Linked DNA regions of Homo sapiens: region 1 is linked to region 2. Evidence: promoter capture Hi-C in 16 types of primary human blood cells and fetal thymus (Javierre and others, 2016). All regions are on one chromosome and are shown on one strand. The core of a region is centred on a gene start or on the middle of the fragment in contact, and the rest is flanking DNA. Distances in the headings are between cores, read along the strand shown. Region 1 overlaps CFAP20 (cilia and flagella associated protein 20). Region 2 holds the start of KIFC3 (kinesin family member C3).

Region 1 (4,784 bases), core at 708-3,207, 320 kb before region 2:
GTCGCTTAGTGACATAATAGTTGTTCGTTAAGTCAAATGCATTACTCGTGTTTGTGAGTAGGTGTAAACCAACCTACTGCACTGCCAGTCATGTAAAAGTATAGCATATACAATGATGTTCAGTGCCTAACACTTGATGATAAATGACTATGTTACTGGCTTATGTATTTACTATACTCTTTATCATTATTTTATTGTATTTTATTTTTCTGAGACAAGGTCTTGCTGTTGCCCAGGCTGGAATGCAGTAGTGCAATCAGGGCTCACTGCAGTCTCCATCTCCTGGGCTCAAGCAATCCTCCCACCTCAACCTCCCAAGTAGCTGGGACTACAGGCCCTCACCACCACACCTCACTAATTTTTGTATTTTTGTAGAGACGGGGTTTCTCCATGTTGCCCAGGCTGGTCTTGAATTCCTATGCTCAAGCAGTCCTCCTGCCTCAGCCTCCCAAAGTGCTAGAATTACAAGCATGAGTTCCCGTGCCTGGCCTTATCATAATTTTAGAATGTACTCCTACTTAACAACAAGAACAAAAAGTTAACTGTAAAATAACCTTAGGCAGGTCCTTCAGGAGATATTTCAGAAGAAGGCAGTGTTGTCATAGGAGATGACAGCGCCATGTGCGTTATTGCTCTTGCAGACCTTCCAGTGGGACAGCATGTGGAGGTGGAGACTGTGATTGATGTTAATGATCCTGACCCTGTGCGGGCCTGGGCTCATGTGTGTGTTTGTGTCTTAGTTTTTAACAAAAAAGTTTAAAAAGTTAAAAAAAGAAATAGGAAAAACCTTATGGAATAAAGATATATAGAAAGAAAATATTTTTGTGCAGTTGAACATTGTGTTTTAAGCTAAGTGTTATTACAAAATAGTCTAAAAGTTTTTAAAATTTTTAAAGTTTATAAAGTAAAAAAGTTCCAGTAAGCCAAGGTTAATTTATTATTGATGAAAGAAAAATATTTTTAATAAATTTAGTGTAGTCTGGCCAGGCACAGTGGCTCATGCCTGTAATCCCAGCACTAACTAAATAACTAAAGCACAGTGGCTCATGCCTGTAATCCCAGCACTAACTAAATAACTAAATAAAATAAATGTATTGTAGCATAAGTGTATTGTGTTTACAAAGTGTTCAGTAATGTCCTAGGCCTTCACATTCACTCACCACTCACTCACTGACTCAACCCAGAGCAACTTCCAGTCCTGCATGCTCCACTCATGGCCAGTGCCCTATCCAGTTGTGTCACTTTTTATCGTTTATACAGTACTGTACCTTTTCTATGTTTAGACACACAAATACGTACCATTATGTTACAGTTGCCTACAGTATTCAGTACAGTAGTATGCTGTACAGATTGTAGCCTAGGGGCAATAGGCTATACCATATGGCCCGGGTGTGTAGGATGTTGTACTGTCTAAGTCTGTGTAAGTACACTCTGATATTCACACAGCCATGGAACTGCCTAATGAGGCATTTCTCAGAACGTAATCCCATCCTTAAGCAATGCATGACTGTAGTTAGTACTTTATAAGTAATGACATACAGAATTAAATATGGCAGGGACTGAGGAATTTGCTCAAAACTAAAATAAGATGTTTGAACTTAGCCCACCATCCAGATTTCTAGGAATAGGAAGTACTGTAAAACCAGACTCCTGAAATGAGAAGAATTTAGTTGTTGCACCGTGGCTCGCCCAGCCCTAAGCCCTTAATGTGGCTCTAAGGCCACATAACCCATGCTCTGGCACCTGCTTCACTTGTTCTCCAGGCGGGACTCACTTCACCCGGTTCCCCCTCTTAGTAGTAGCCTCCTACTGAATTGAAGGAAGTCCTGTTCTCTCACCTTCAAGCTTTTGCACTTCCTGGTCCTTCTGCTGGGCGCTGCCCCTCACCACCCCACAAGCCTCACTCCCATCTTTTCATTAGGCTCCAGTCACAGTTCAAAGGCCTTTCTCAGAGTGACCTTCCTTAACTCTTCAGGGTAAGTTAATTTACTTCTTTCTTATCACACTTGACATTATTAGCTTCTTAAGGTCTGTATTCCTGGCTATACAGTTTCCTGATAGAAGCTTTTGTAAGTTTCTAAACCAACAGCTTAGAAGAAATTAGGGGTTTCTTTAATGTTACCTTGACATCTGGGACCAGCAAATCTTATATTTATTAAAAGACTCTTACGTTTAATGTAAACATTACTTCTGGTTGTAAGGAAAATACCAGGAGGTTCTGTTCCCACTTATACTTGTGTAAAACATGCTGTAATTTTCAGTCTTTTTTTTTTTTTTTTTTTTTTTTTTTTTTTTTTGAGACAGAGTCTTGCTCTGTCCCCCAGGCTGGAGTGCAGTGGCACGATCTCGGCTCACTGCAGGCTCCACCACCTGGGTTCACGCCATTCTCCTGCCTCAGCCTCCGGAGTAGCTGGGACTACAGGCGCCCGCCACCACGCCCAGCTAATTTTTTGCATTTTTAGTAAAGATAGGTTTTCACCGTGTTAGCCAGGATGGTCTCGATCTCCTGACCTCGTGATCCGCCTGCCTTGGCCTCCCAAAGTGTTGGGATTACAGGCGTGAGCCACTGCGCCCAGCCAATTTTCGGTCTTAATGGTAGTAATCCTGGCTGGGCGCAGTGGCTCACGCCTGTAATCCTAGCACTTTGGGAGGCCAAGGCGAGCTGAGGTCAGGAGTTCAAGACCAGCCTGACCAACATGAAGAAATCCCGTCTCTACTAAAAATACAAAAGTTAGCCGGGCATGGTGGCACATGCCTGTAATCCCAGCTACTCGGGAGGCTGAGGCAGGAGAATCACTTGAACCCGGGAGGTGGAGGTTGCGGTGAGCCGAGATGGTGCCATTGCACTCCAGCCTGGGCAACAAAAGCAAAACTTTGTCTCAAAAAAAACAAGATAGTATCCTAAAAGTACATGAGATGAGATTGCATTAATTCATGAAAACGCCTTTGTCTGTCTTTCCTGTCACCCTGTCTTTCTCTCAGCTGCTGCTGTTTCTCCCCTACTCCAAGACTAAATATTAGACCAGAGTCTTCTGCTGTTGCTGGATAGTGTTAGATTCCCATGTCCTGTTCTAATTTTAAAAATAAAGTCTCTCTTCAGAAAAAATTTCCTACATTCTAGTTTTTAGTTAGCATGCCTTGTTGATAAAAATTAAATTGGTGCTGTTTTCAGTAGTAGAATTGAGTGTATTTGGACATAAAGGTGGTAAAACTTTTTTTCTGACTTGGAGAATGTTCTTCATTATTCTGAGTCAGGTTTTACTGTAATTGAACGAAGACATGGTTTTTTGGTTTTGTTTTTCTTTTTTTTTGAAACAGAGTCTCGCTCTGTCACCCAGGCTGGAGTGCAATGGCACAATCTCAGCTTACTGCAACCTCCTCTTTCTGGATTCAAGCAATTCTCCTGCCTCAGCCTCCTGAGTAGCTGGGATTACAGGCATGCGCTACCACACCCAGCTAATTTTTTTGTATTTTTAGTAGAGATGGGGTTTCACATGTTGCCCAGGCTGGTCTCAAACTCCTGATCTCAGGTGATCCTCCCACCTCAGCCTCCAAAAGTGCTGGGATTACAGGCGTGAGCCACCGCGCCCGTCCGAAGACATGGGTTTTAATTACACTTGCCTTTTCTTAGCTGTGCACATAATTGTCCTTACGCTGACTTAGGGGTTGTTGGTGTATGCCCAGAGTTGCTTGTCTGCTGTCTGGATAGCCCCTGTCAAGTACAGCGAAGGGAGTGAAGCCTTTGACCCTTGGAGCCTGGGAGTCTGAGTCGGAGCTATGCTCAGTTCTCCCCACAGGGGTCTCCCTCTGCCTAATTTCTGTCTGGGAACCCAGCCCTTAACCCAGTGCAGGAACTTTCCTGCTGAAATGGACAGCTCTAATGGTTTAATGTAAATTAGAGCATGTGTCATTAAAGCTAGGATGCCAGATGGCTGAGGGTTCAGCTGCCTGCCAGGCTGAGTGGGTGGGGCCAGAAAAATGAAAGTTGGGGGAGGGAATGGATACAACTCATGTTATTTTTAAAGCAGTCATAGAAATATACAGCATCCACCAGCTCCCTCCCTATCCCAGTAGTAGTATTTTTTTTTTCCCTCAGCTTGACCCACCTCCCTGAGGCTTACATTGCGGGGAGGGAGAGAAATCGGTGTTCTTTATTAGTTGCCCTAGCAACCATGGAAAGCCTGGGAGAGTGATTGTAAGACTGGCCTGAAGCTTTGGTCACCTCTGTTGTCTGCAGAGGCAGAGAACCATTATGATCTGTAATTGCCAGTAACTGGATTCTGAAGCTCTTTGAGTATCTCCAGCTCATGGGCAGGGGAGGGGAAATTAATGAAATAAAACAATATTGGCTTTAGATTTTTATTTTTATTTTATTTTTTTTGAGGAATAAAGCACTCATAGGCCACACTTTGATAGTGGGAATGTGTCATGAATGAAAAAGAATTAACAAATCAAAAACAGTCGGCTCTTTGTGATCTAGAGAAGGACAGAACATGTTAAAACCTGCTTCCGCCATGAGCAATAAATGCTGAGCAGTTCATTTTATCTTCATCCCAAAGCCACGCCTGCCCAGTGACCTCTGAACTGGAAGGAGCTAAGGAAAGGACGTTGATACTTTCTGAGACATGTATCTTCCTGTATGCTGTTTTCAGAAGCTGGTTTTAGGAGACGGTTGCTTTCCTGGAAGACCTTTATAATATTAGGCAATGACAGCCACATGGCCAGGGTGGTGGGGAGCCTTTGCCCCAAATTGCCTGTCGCCTCTCCCCTTTGATCCTAGTTTT
Region 2 (4,586 bases), core at 1,273-3,772:
CCAAAAATATAAAAAATTAGCTGGGTGTGGTGGTGTGCGCCTGTAATCCCACTGCACTCCAGCTTGGGTGACAGAGCGAGCCCCCGTCTCAAAAAAAAAAAAAAAAATTGAGTCAGGCACAGTGATTCACATCTTCACATCTGTAATCCCAGGACTTTGGAAAGCCAAGGTAGAAGGATCCCTTGAGCCCAGGAGTTTGAGACCAGCCTGGGCAACATAGTGAGACACCCCCATCTCTACTTAAAAAAAAAAAAAATTAGCTAGGCACACTGGTGTGTGCCTGTAGTCCCAGCTACTCAGGAGGCTCAGGTGGGAGGATCACTTGATCCCAGGAGTTCGGGGCTATAGTGAGCTATGATTGCATCACTGCACTCCAGCCTGGGCAACAGATCAAGATCTTGTCTCAAAAATGCAACAACCATGAAACAAGTAGTTTTTACGTTTCAAATCGGAGTTTTGCTAGAATTCCAAAAATACAACCTCCTTACACTTCAATTTCCTTTTTCCTTCGCTGGTGCTTTGATCTTAATAAGTTGTTATACCCATATGCATCTGATAGTACTGTGTGAGTACCTATTGGAGTCATAGCTCTATCACACACTGCATTTGTGAACAAACTTTCTGAGGCTCAGTTTCCTTTCCTGAAACACGGGTGTCCTGAAACAGTACTGGTGTTCATAGGGTGTTCAGGGTTAAATGGGATTTTGTTTATAAAGAGCTTAGTGCTGTGCCTGACACAGTGTTAGCTTCAATAATGGCATCTATTATGTACACAGGAAAAAAAAAGACTTCTAAAGTGTTGGCAGCATTTATCTCCAGTGTGTGGGATATGGTTACAATGAACATCTATTACTTTTGTAATCAAAGCAAAAGAACAATAAATGTTATTATTAATTTAAAAATCTGGCTTTGGCTTTGGTGGGAAGGACCTACAGTTAATGTCAATGTACTCAATCCCTGAGTAAGAAAAAGTCTCCAGTTTTGAACCAGGACTTTAAAGACATTCTGTCCTCCCCATCCCCCGCCCCATCAACTCATAGGGACTATAATCAAGGGAGATAGATACTAAATCAGAATTCTAGAGACATTTTGCCTTCATCCACCCTTGCGGTCCCCTGGATCACTGCTGTTTGGAGGGCAGGCAGAGGAATTCAGAGATCATAACTCCCCAAATAAGGCTTTCTCTCCCATTGGAAGGGTTCTCCAGTGTGGTGTTCAGCTGGAAATCTAACTCTCTAGGGAATGATTCCAGGAGCGTTACATTCACCCTCTATCAGGCCTTCACTGAGGAATCTCAGTTGTCAAATAAAGCATGCACTAGGCTGCTTCCAGCTGGGGGACTGTGACTGTCCTGCTCTGGCGTCCAGAACAATCTGAGGCCCAGGCCCTTGGCTCCGTCGCTGGTCGAGATTCTTGACTGGCAGCCCAGCGCCTGGGCGGCAGCAGGAGATAGAACCCACCTGGAGTTGCCCGACCCCCTCCAGTCCTCTCCTTGATCTTCTTGGGCCATCCCCTGACAAGCAGGAAGGGACAGAGTACCCGCCCTCCTGGGATTATCTGCAGAACCGTCAGCCTGCATGGGCTGGCTTCAGAGTGACTTGCTTTCTCCTCTTCCGCACCCGGGGGTGTGGAGAGTGAGGGAGAATATTGCTGCTGGCTCTGGAATAAAATGCTGCCTCTGTTTGGGAGACAAAGAACAGAGTGGCTCCTCCAGGTCAGCTGTCTCTCCCGGCTGGCAGGCCCCTGGCCTCCCCCAGGCCTCTTCTGAGGCTCTAGGTGCCCCAGTAGCAGGGCCTTCTGCAGCAAGGCCGGGAACTGCTGCACCATTGGTGTGTTTTACCTTAAGGGACTCCAGGCAGCTTCCTTGCTGGGAAGATATTCATTTGCTGGGGTGGGGCTGGGGGTGCAGAGGTAGGAAGTGCTGTGGCTAGAAGGCGGCCTGGCCAGCGAGTAGGTGGTGGAGCGAGTGAGAGCGTGTGCGCTGTAAACAGTGTGAGTGCATGTGCGCCAGCGCGTGCAAGGACACGGTAAGGGATGTACATGTATTGTCTCGTGAGTAAGAGCTTGTGTGTGTGTTGGGATGGGAAGACACGTACTGGTATGAGAGCCCGCGTGAGAAGTGTATGTGTGAGTACTCGCGTGGAAGTTTTGCACTCGGGTTTGAGGCTGTGCAAAAGTACGCATGGCTCACCAGGTGTGGGGCTGTGTGGGCTGCCTCGTGTGTGCCAGCCCGTGTGCAGGCCTGTTTTGTGAGAGCCTTCAGGGAACGCATGAGCACGTGTGCCAGTGCGAGTGCGGGACGCGGGGAGGCGGGAGAGACCGAGTGGGAGGCCCCGCGAAGGAGTGGGAGTGGGAGTGGGAGTGCCGGCGGGAGACCTGCGGGGGCGCGCCCGGGCTGACGCGTGCGCGCCAGTGCGCGTGAGTGCGGGCGCGCGCCGCCGCCCCCCGCCGGGGTCGGAGCCGGTTGCCATGGGAACGCGCCGCGGCCCGAGTTAATCATTTCCTGTGGAAAGTGTGCGGGAGGGGCGCGAGCGGGCTGGCCGAGGAGGAGGCGGCGGCGTGGAGCTGCCTCCTGCCGGCGGGCCGGGCCGGGCCGAGCCCCGGGCGCTGCGGCGACGCCTGGATCCTGCCTCCGCCAGGCCGGTGAGTGGGGGGCCCGGGCGGGCTGGGTGCGAGCGGGGCGCTGGGCTCTGCCCGGCCCGCCGTTTGGGGCGCCGCGTCCGGGCCGGCCCTGCCCTCGGGACCCCTCTGCCCGGACCCGCTATGGGCGCGGGGAGGGAAAGGCCCGGGAGACCCAGCCCTGCGAGGTCCCCTCCAGCGCCGTTCAGCCCGAGTCGAGGACCTTGCTGGGAGCTGGGCACAGGGGCGGCGTGTCCCACGGGATCCGAGCAGCCTCGGGACCCCGTTTGGATTTTATTGAACGAGAAGAGCGCAGACCCTACCCGGGATGGGCTTGTCAATCGGCGCCGCCCTCTCCCCTTCCTGGCGTCTTCCCCACCCCCAGGGCTCCCTGGAAGGCTGCCTTTGGGTCCCTCCCACCACGTCCCTTGGGGAGTTCGCTTTTTCCCTGGCAGGGCCTGGGGCGGGGTGCGCCCGCCCAGAGGTTAGGAAGAAGGGCCTTGGCCGGTGCCCTCCGGGCAGTGAGGAATCGGGCCATTGACAGCCGCAGCAGTTGTGAGGGTCTCAGCAGGGAGGGCGATCCCAGGACCACCCCTTTAAGCCCAGCATTGCTAGTTAGAGCAGAACTCTGGCTGGTGCAGTGAAGGGCCTGGTCCTGGGAGATATTAAAGAGGAAGCTGTGTTTAATTAAATTCTGGAGTACCATTTACTGCCACCCAGCCCCCACCTCCATACCCCAACACTGTCTCAAGATTGCGGGTTGTGGCCACCCCTGGTCTTTCACCTTCCCCGGCTTTTCCTCTGCCTGAACAGGGTGAGCACCCATTCTTTCCCAGACGTGTATTCCCCATGCCCTTGTTAGAGTAGCCGTCTCCTTGACCAGGGAGAGTCATTTGCTAGGAATGCAGTCTCAGAATGGGGCCCTGCATTTGCAGTGAGTGGACTTTAGGGGCACAGGGTGGTGAGTTCTGCTGTTCACAGGGGCACCAGGGAGCAGAGGGTTTGAAATCTAGGTTGCCCTGGAAAGCCCAGGATAGATGATGGTGTGCAGGGAGGTGGCATTCCCTGTACAACTTCCTTGACCTTCTGCCTGCTCTCCCAGGGCGACCAAGCCCTGCTTGCTGCAGTCTCTGAGCAGCTGTCCAGCCTGTCCCCCCAGTCTTTGCAATGTCCCTGATCTAGGGCAGGGGGAGTATTGCAGCTCTGCTGTCCTGGTCTAAACCCAGAGAGGCAGAGACCCTCTTCCCCAGCCAGGCCCTCTGCATTCACCCACCACTGGAGCAAAGTAACTGAAAAATAAAATTTTGGAGCTCTTTGTATATGCCAGTATTGTTCTGAACACTTGGCCTTGTCTAATCTTTAGAGCAACCCTATAAGGTGGTGTTCTCCCCATTTTATAGATGGAGATAATGAAGTACGGAGAGGCAAAGTAATTCTCCCAAGGTCAGACATCTAGTAAACAGGGGAGCCAGGTTCTGAACCAGTCCCACTGCCCTCCCCCACGAATCCTAGGTTGGTAGAAGTCCCCGGACACCAGGTTTCATCTCAGATGCCCATGTAAATGAGAGAGAGTCCTGCTTTCTTGGCCCAGAACCCTGGGCTTAAGATTCCTTGATACTTTTGACCTTCACACCCCTGAGGCTGCTAAATTCAGCTGCTTTTTCCTCTTCGGGATCTAGCACACGCCCTTCCTCTTTCTTCCCGATATCTTCCTGGCTGCCTCCTCCACTTCCCTTCCTGATAACCGCAGAAACGCTATCTCCTCCTGTCCCTGCCCCTCAGACTGAGCTGAGCTGATCTCCCTGAAAGTCTTCTCTGTCCACTGTGGAGTCAGCCTCCAATGCCCTGCACTGTCTCACCTTCCCAGCAGCCGAGACTGCAGATGGACCTGCCTTGCTCCTTCCCTTGCCCATTGGACAGCTGGTCTGCAGGGTTGGTTGTGTGCCCAGCTCTGTGCCAGGCAGCCT

The links. Contacts are between HindIII fragments. The CHiCAGO score rates a contact against its expected background, and 5 or more counts as called.
Region 1: a contact is called between a fragment that was not itself captured here and the fragment with the promoter of KIFC3 in region 2, in 1 of 17 cell types (endothelial precursors). The highest score is 5.6, in endothelial precursors.

Annotation. Positions count from the first base shown.
Region 1 is chr16:58,121,109-58,125,892 of GRCh38, reverse strand. The region is part of intron 1 of CFAP20 (cilia and flagella associated protein 20); the gene reads left to right. Among named protein-coding and RNA genes, the nearest start is that of CFAP20, 5.9 kb to the left of the region's middle. The HindIII fragment of the contact is 219 bases long and covers 1,848-2,066 here.
Region 2 is chr16:57,800,427-57,805,012 of GRCh38, reverse strand. KIFC3 (kinesin family member C3) reads left to right here and starts at 2,522. Exons shown (of 20, transcript NM_001130100.2): 1 at 2,522-2,643. RefSeq lists enhancers at 1,549-2,225, 2,903-3,579. The HindIII fragment of the contact is 12,094 bases long and covers 1-4,586 here.